Linked DNA regions of Homo sapiens: all the other regions are linked to region 3. Evidence: promoter capture Hi-C in 16 types of primary human blood cells and fetal thymus (Javierre and others, 2016). All regions are on one chromosome and are shown on one strand. Each heading gives the region's core, a stretch centred on a gene start or on the middle of the fragment in contact. The rest is flanking DNA. Distances are from core to core; before and after follow the strand shown.

What was found. Contacts are between HindIII fragments. The CHiCAGO score rates a contact against its expected background, and 5 or more counts as called.
Region 1: a contact is called between a fragment that was not itself captured here and the fragment with the promoter of TBK1 in region 3, in 1 of 17 cell types (total CD8 T cells). The highest score is 5.5, in total CD8 T cells.
Region 2: the fragment with the promoter of SRGAP1 here is called in contact with the fragment with the promoter of TBK1 in region 3 in 1 of 17 cell types (naive CD8 T cells); the score reaches 5.8 in naive CD8 T cells.

What each region holds. Positions count from the first base shown.
Region 1 is chr12:65,179,023-65,181,795 of GRCh38, forward strand. The region is part of intron 1 of LEMD3 (LEM domain containing 3); the gene reads left to right. Among named protein-coding and RNA genes, the nearest start is that of LEMD3, 11 kb to the left of the region's middle. The HindIII fragment of the contact is 2,224 bases long and covers 349-2,572 here.
Region 2 is chr12:63,843,386-63,846,212 of GRCh38, forward strand. It overlaps SRGAP1 (SLIT-ROBO Rho GTPase activating protein 1), which reads left to right and starts at 1,315. Exons shown (of 22, transcript NM_020762.4): 1 at 1,315-1,498. The coding sequence starts at 1,432. RefSeq lists silencers at 248-667, 728-787, 898-1,157 and enhancers at 320-821, 822-1,321. The HindIII fragment of the contact is 14,499 bases long and covers 1-2,827 here.
Region 3 is chr12:64,450,816-64,453,603 of GRCh38, forward strand. TBK1 (TANK binding kinase 1) reads left to right here and starts at 1,305. Exons shown (of 21, transcript NM_013254.4): 1 at 1,305-1,372. It overlaps XPOT (exportin for tRNA), which reads left to right. Exons shown (of 25, transcript NM_007235.6): 25 at 1-310. RefSeq lists a silencer at 1,176-1,645. The HindIII fragment of the contact is 9,573 bases long and covers 1-2,788 here.

The sequences.
Region 1 (2,773 bases), core at 211-2,710, 730 kb after region 3:
GGGGCATCTGCTATGAAGCAAACTATAATATATAATACATAGAACAATAATACAATATTAAAACTATTTCTAATTTTTAAAATATTTGCAGTCTCAAAACTGGTAGGGAAAGTGATCTTTTGATTTGTATTACCAATTACAACTTGTTCTTTCTGTTGTTCATTTTTAGGATATAAAGAACTTTTCATACATTTGATCTCCCTTTTTTGCTCCTTTTGAATAAACTTCATATTTTCCCTTTATACTCATATATGTTTTAATGGAAATGATGCATTTGATAATTTCAGGGACACTAAAATAATCATGAAAAATTATTTTCATGATTCCTAAGAGTTGGGAAGTTCTTAAAGCTTGCTTCTCCTTGCTCATTGATTATTCAATATTAACTTTCCCTATCTGAAAAATATGTTATATAAATGGAAATTTATAGCCTCAGTGCAAAGATAATTATATAGTTTGTAAGTTGTTTAAAAGAGAAGGACACCTTAAACTGTTGGAACTCTCCAAAATGTATTTGTTAATAAATAAGTACTACTAACTTGTTTGTGAAAATTTTATTACTAATGATATAATCTAAATTCGAATGAAGATATATTCTAGGGGTGGGGAGAATATCAGGAAAAATAGCTAATGCATGCTGGGCTTAATACCTAGGTGATGGGTTGATAGGTGCAGCAAACTGCCATGGCACGCGTTTACCTATGTAACAAACCTGCACATCCTGCACATGTATCCCAGAACTTAAAATAACATTTTAAAAAAGATGTATTTTAATCTTGTATTGATTATACATTAAAAATTGCTGCCATTTAATATGGGAACATAGCTTAATACTAATTGTGGAAATTGTTATAACAGTTATTTGCTTATAACTTTGGATTTTGATTTTCATATTTAGATTTATTTTTAACATAGATTTTATTTATTTTTTATTTTTTTGGAGACAGGATCTTGTTCTCTCGCCCAGGCTGGAGTGCAGTGGTGCAATATCGGCTCACTGCAGCCTCCATCTCCTAGGTTCAAGTGATTTTCCTGCCTCCACCTCCCAAGTATCTGGGATTACAGGCACATGGCACCACGCCCGGCTAATTTTTGTATTTTTTAGTAGAGATGAGGTTTCACCATGTTGGCCAGGCTGGTCTTAAACTCCTGACCTCAGGTAATCCACCTGCCTCGGCCTCTCAAAGTGCTGGGGTTACAGGTGTGCGCCACCGTGCCCTGCCCTAACATAGATTTTAAAGTGAACCAGTAACAGTATAGTTGAGCAGTAACCTTTGGATTTCACTGTTTTAATAATCTATGCTTTAAACTGCATCAGTTTATATATTATATATTATATATATAGTTAATAATATTCTTTATTAACAATATTGCCAAAATTTTTTTAAACAAGAGTTTACCAGGAAGAAAATAAGTTAGGTTTTAATAATTTATTTTGCATGTTTAATATCATTATTTAAAAAATATATTTCTTAGGAAATTAGCTCTTCAAAAAGGTTATAAAAGTTATAGTAACAGAGGTAATCTCTAAAAATAGAATAATGCATCTATCATATGGAAGCCATCATGAATTACTTTTCATATGTCTTCATTTTCTTTTATGTCAAGGTATAGTTTAAAATTATACCACTGAATTTTTCCTGGGTGCTAGATTTATTGCTCTGTGCTTTTGCACAGCTTTTTACTTAAAATGCTTTTGCAAGATGACTTCTGAATTCATCTTTACAGCTATGTTACTATCAAATGGCAAGCTAAAGTTTAAAAACAAGGCTTGGTTGTAAAACTATGCAAGAGTGTAGTTCAGCTCTCCTGAACTAATTGGGTAGTAAGTATGCACCAATTGCTGTTCTGCCCTGAATATGACATGAATAGAAAAAACCCTTTAGTAGCAAATGGATATTTTAGCACATAGCAGAAAATTAATTTTGTTTCTCAGTTAGCTCATATATATCTGAGTATGTACACAAACACACACACACACACACACAATTTTCTGACTATGGCTAATTCCTGAAAGCATGCTGTACTTACAAAGGATGCTTTTGCTCTGTAGGAATTCACCAAGGTAAAATTTTCAAAGCATATGAAGAGGATTGTTGAAATTAATTAGGAGGTGAGGGGAATCTTGGGATATCTACTTCTTCTAGCCTCTGAGCTATGGCTTGGAACCTTGGTCAGCCTTATTAAGGACTTCCTTAGTTTATAAGTGTATCTCCCATGGGATCACAAATGCTTTCTTGTTTGATTTAGTTCATTTGAAGAAACATTAAGTTTCTCCTACTCATTTATTCATTCAGTCACGCATTCACCCAGATTATTTATTGAGCACCTATACTATGTACCAGGTAATGGCAGAAGATAAGTATATATCATACCTTTTAGAACTATAGGAGTGACACTCTCCCCACGCTTTGGCTGGCATTCTCTTCTTTTTCCTAAATATTTCTGCACTAGCTAGCCTTCAGAATTGGGATTTTGTTACCATGCAACAGTGTATCAGATTTATATATTGTGACTTGGGAAACATACTTTAAAAATTAGTTTCTGTAAATTTGAGTATACCATCTGGTAAAGCTTATCACAGTGTATATATACACAAAAGAAATAGTTGGCTAATTGAAGTAATGTGTGTTGATCATTCCTTTCACCTTTTCTGTATTACCATTTTCTCAATTGGGAATTCTACCTTTAAAAACCACACAATTTTAATAAATGTAGGTTTTATTTTTTGCAGGTTTTTAGGAGTAATTTTTAAAAAAGGAAGAGACATGAA
Region 2 (2,827 bases), core at 65-2,564, 610 kb before region 3:
AGGTGGGTGTTTTTCTCCGCCTCGATTGAAGAGCTTCGCGCTCTTTGGATTAACAGCCAGGTCATTCACAATTCAGTGTTCAGTTTTTCTATTGGGGTCCAGCGTCTCGGAGTAACATCCCTTTGTGTCATGGATACATCCAACTCTGGACTTCCCCATTAGATTCTGGCAAAAGCCCCACCAGAGCCCCCGCCAGAGCCAGAAGGCGGTCCCTCAGGTCAGGAAGGGGTTTTCCTGCCGCCGGAGCCGCGACCTCGGCTAGCGGTGGAGCGGGGCTTCGGCGGAGGGAGGTGCGGGGCCTCGGCGGAGGGAGGTGCCGGGGGCGCCGCCCACGGCCTCCTGGGCTCGGCGCGCGGGGCCGGGCTGCGGTTGGCCACAAGAGGCATCCATCTTCCCGGACCAGCCAGGCGTTTCCTAGCGGAGCAGGGGCGGGAGCTTGGACGGAGAAGGGCACAGGCCGGAGCGCGGTCCGCTCCCGCGAGCCTGGCCCCGCCTGGCGGAGCCCCGAGGAGCCACCGCCCGCAGATCGCTAGCCGGGCGCCCGCGAGGCGCGAGCCGTGTGCGCACCCTCAACTTTGCTGCCGCCGGGGGCGCGGCTCCCGCGTGCGTGTGCGAGTGTGCCTGTCACTAGCGGCCTCCTGGGGGCAGCAGCGGAAAGGGGGACGCAGAGAAAGGCAGCCTCGGCGCACCGCGGCCAGGGAGGCAGAGGCCCCTCGCGGCGCCGGCTCTGGAGACCTAAACTCCGCCGGGGCTGTGCCCAGGGCGCGTCTGAGCGTCGCCGCCTTCACCCTCTCAGCAGCAGCGGGGACTCGCGTCAGGACTGCGATTCCTTTCGCCTGCCGAGCTGTAGCGGCAGTGTCTGCGGGCAGAGGAGCGGCGGCCGTGGCAGCAGCATCCCCAGCCCGGGCGGGACCCTTGAGCGCCGGAGCCGACAGCTGGAGGCAGGAAGGGAGGGTTGTGGCGCCCGAGCTGGGCGCGTTCCCAGCGCCTGCCCTCCGCCGCTGGCCCTGTCCCGGGCGCCCGGTGCGGGTCTCGAACAATGGTGCGGAGCGCCGGCGCGAGCCCCGCGCCCGCCCAGCGGCCGTAGAGGAAGTGGCCGGGCTCCCGGCGAGGTGGGCAGGGAGACGTCCCCCGCCACTCGCTGGCTGGAGTTTGCCTGCGCGTCCGGCCTCTCCCCCGGGGATCCCCTGGGATTACCGACGGAGCTCAATTTCGAGAGTATGGTGCCAGCGCCCGGGCTAATCTAGTCCTCTCTACTCGCTCTTTTTCCCCTCCTCCTCCTACTTCTCCTCTCCCTCCTCCCTTCCCTCGGGTCGGCGCTGCCTCTGGATTGCCTGCGTGTGGGAGTACAACTCTGCCTCTCCAAGGAGAACGGGTTGTGACCACTGAACAAAACTTGCCCATTGAAAGCAAACCCGGAACAGCTGGATAATGTCCACCCCGAGCCGATTCAAGAAGGACAAAGAGATCATAGCCGAGTATGAAAGTCAAGTCAAAGGTAAGGATGGGAGCGGCTGCCTTGCTCCTTTTGTGTGCCTTCTTGTCATTGTGCTCGTGGAGTTGCGTATCTAACTTGGTGTCTGCGTGGGAGGAAGGTGGTGAGGGGACAGCTCGAGCCCTGTCTGAGCCACCTGGGCTTCCTACAAGCCAGTTAGTTCCCAGTTGCAATCCCAGTCCCGTCAAACCCACGGGGAGCTGGAAACTGGGTGACTTCCCCCGCCAGCTGCCAGCCCGCATCTCTAATGGGGAGAGAACTGGCTTTAACTTAACCACCTTCAGCTGGGCAACTTATGTGGGAAGCAGGCAGCAGTGGAGGATCCTGTCCAGCTATTATTATCACCATCATTATTCTTTTTAAATGGTAGGATTGTCACTACGTAATTTTTTTACGGAATGATTTTTGTAAAGTCTGTGAACCCCAAGCGGTCTACAGCCTCATTGAGTGCAGGCTATTTCAGATATTTACACCACTCACCTATTTACACCGCTCACAATTTATTAGGGCGAGACCCCTTTTATTAAATAGCTCCCTAAAAGCCTGGCAGTTAAACGAAGCAGTGACTAGTGGAATCTGACTCTTCCTTTATAATGGGCCAGAATTCATTGCCATCTTTCACACTCACATGGGAATATTGCTTTATCATTTTCTGGAAGCCACTTGCATGTAAAATGAAGGTTTGAATATTTGAGTAGTAGTTTCAGTCCATTTACATTGTCAACTAATGAAGGAAACCTAATTAAGGCTGATTATTTTTACTTTCTATGCCTTGTGATTAAAAATATATATATTTTCTCTCCAATACAAGTATTTTGTTTTGTTACTGAAGTGTTTCGTAAACATATGTGTTACTTGAATTTTTTCCTCCTCTTTCCTGAGGTCTCAGGAGTAGCTTTCCTGATTGAGACAATGGATGGAATGTTGGGACCGCCACTGTTCTTTGACACATTCAATGCAAAGTTCATAAAGATTGCTATGTATACACCTGTGTTTATCTATGCACAGTCTTATGAAAGGGCTACGGAGAGAGGCATTACTGTACTTCCCTTGAGCAAGGGAGGAGCAGCCTGAGTGTTCTTTTGTGTGGTCAAGTTGTAAAAATGCCTGGAGTCCTGTGAGAGGACCTGGTGGAGAAATCCTGTATCATCCAGTGTGAATACAGACCAACTCATTGTGGACACTGCAGACACAATATGCAAGATAACTTAGGTTATCTTTAGGAGGACCCCTATAATGGAGTTATCTATAGGCTGACCCCTATAATGTGTTCAGGAGACACAGATTTTTGTCTGCTTGGAATTGTGATAATTTATACTTACAGGAACTTGT
Region 3 (2,788 bases), core at 55-2,554:
CCTAACAGTTTAAATCTTAATGCTAATGTTAATTGCTTCCCAGTTGGTTGACCTTATAAGAAAACACTGTGTGGTATTTTAATGTGGTAAACATGTGAATGAAGGCCTGTGGCTCAGTTAATCACTCCCACAACTTTGAGCTGTGAGTTTTACTGGTGGAAGGAACTTTAACAGGTCTTCGCTCTTGTCATTAGATATCAAAGAACTGAAATTAGTTGGAATTGTAAGCAGTGAATAGATGTGTTGTTAGAATGATTCCATCACTTATACATTGTTTAAAATGCTAATAAAGTAACTTGCTTTGTAAGAATTCATTAGAGTGGACTTTTGTTATCTCCATTGTGCATTTGATAAAACTGAGGCTTAGAGAGGTAAGAGATTAGCTTTTAAGTCAGTAATTGGCAGCCGAGACAGCAACCCTAGGTCTGTTACATTCAAAAGCCTCTGAGCCACTCCGCATGACTTCCCATTCATTCGTGTTTGCTGCTGCTACTCTGGGAAACACCATCTTCCTCTTCCCCTCCACTCAGAAATTTAGCCCTAGATTAGCAGCGGTCTCTGCTCCCTCATGTTGAGAAAGGCCTGTTGTGCTGTCCGTGGGCAGAAGGGACCCCTTCAGAAAGCTATTCCTTATTGGGAATAGCGGCTTGAGATTTTGACTGCACGAATATTGCAGGACCTAATTTTAGTATTTAAGTTTTAGTTCTTAAATTCTTAAGTTTAGAGTTAGATACTCCAATACGGCCGTTTTCCAAAATACCGAGAGGGAATTAAATGAACATTTTTACATTAAGAATTTAATGTATTTCTGGGTGATGGGAAAATGAAAAAAACAATGTAAAGTCTGAATTACTGCGAGACGATAATCTGGCTCCACTGCAGCCAAAGTGGGCCCTTAAAACATAGAATCCATCCCTCCCAGCTCTGCCGGCCGTCTGTGCCTGCCCCCCACGTGTCCCACGTTCTGCACACCTGTAAATCTTGGGATGTAATCCCTTGCTCAGCGTCGGTCCGCCCTACTGTCGGCCAGCGCTCGGGGAAGGGGCGGGATTTGCAGTTGCGGGAATCCCAATTACTGTGTTCGCTGCTCAGGGCTCCTCATTCCCCTTTAGAGTAAAGGGCGAGGGCAACAGTGGACGGGGTGTCTCCAGACATCCCCCTCATTACCGTGGCCGCGGAAGCCGACTCGGCAGTTGCCGCCGCGGCTGTGGTGACTACCAGACGGGCCATAGGCGTGCGCACGCGCACCCGCACCGGCGCGCCGGCCGTCGGTCACGTGGCCTCCGGCCAGGGCTTGCGAAGCCGGAAGTGTCCTGAGTCTCGAGGAGGCCGCGGGAGCCCGCCGGCGGTGGCGCGGCGGAGACCCGGCTGGGTAAGTGAGACGGCCGCGGGCTGAGGGGCCAAGGCGGCGCGGGGCGCGGTCGGTCAGGCCTGCGCCGCCCGGCGGGGAGCGCTCCCGCCCCCTGTGGGAGGCTGGGATGCTGAGTCAGAGCGGGGGCGGGGGCGGGCGCACCGAGAAGCCCCGGACGACCCGAGGCCAAGCCATCCAGGACCCCGGCTGCGTGGACACTGCCTCTGGGGTGTGTGTCGGGTGGCCGTAGCCGGTGGAATGGTCGCGCGGGCCCTGTTACCTGCATCCCCGCTCCGCGCCGCGCGGCCGGTCCTCGACCTGCATCCCGTCCGGCGGCTTTGGGCATAAAGAGGACGACTCCGTTACCGGGCCTGGGCCCTGGCTGCCTGGGGAGGCAGGGGCACCTCTTTCCCTTAGACTCGCTGTTTTCTACCCTCTTTCCGAGCGTCGACACAACGGGCAGTTTTTAAATGTATTGATTTTTCAGAGGATTAAAAAGAGACGTTTCCTTAGAGTTTTAGTGATGTTCAGTCCGCAGAGGTTGACTCACACCGGAAATTAGAAGCATAAGATGTTTTAAATATATGCCGATGAAATACGAATTCCCAGACATTTCCTTGCTCCTCGTCTACCTGGCTTATGGGTTTAATTTGTAATCTCTATCCCAAGTATTCTTAGTAGGTGGCCTCAAAACAACTCCCAAGTAATTGCCAAATGTATAACCAAAGACTGGTCTTTTCCACTCTGAAACCCCAGTGTATGAATCACATAGGGGCAGAGTTTAGAAATCCTGGAACTTTGTCCATAGGCCATGTCGTCAAACCTGTTTTCATCCCTCAACAAATAGTAACTTTCGTTTTGGACGGTGTAAGGAAGTAGGCTGAAGACGGCATCATCAGCAACATAGTTGTTGAGTGTCTGCTTATATGCTTGTCAAAAATTTGGGAAGATTTATATGGCAAGCACGTTGTGGGTGTGCTGAGTCATGTTTTAACATGTTATTGTGGAGTTATTGGAAGATAATTTCAAAAGACATTTCCCCTGACCACTATTGTGATTACTGTTAAATAGAAACCATAGTTTTGTATTTGCATAGAGAACAGATATCTTAGCTGATAAATATTTTTCTTATTATCCTGAAGGTACATACATATAGGTACCTAATGGTACTATTTGCCATTTACAGTTACATTGATTAGGGAAGGTTTTTCGTTAGATAGTTGAGACGTTTGTTATTGTATCGTGAGTGAAATGTAATGACTGGCAAATGTGTATTCCTTATTTGTGAAAAGGGAATCTTATTTTTATTGCTTATTTCCTATAGTCGTATATAAAGTTTATCTAAATTAGATGGGTAGTAAAATTATATAAAAATATCCTACTATATCAGTGATTGGTAAAATTGAGACCCCTGACCATTCTGCATTTTCCTAACCC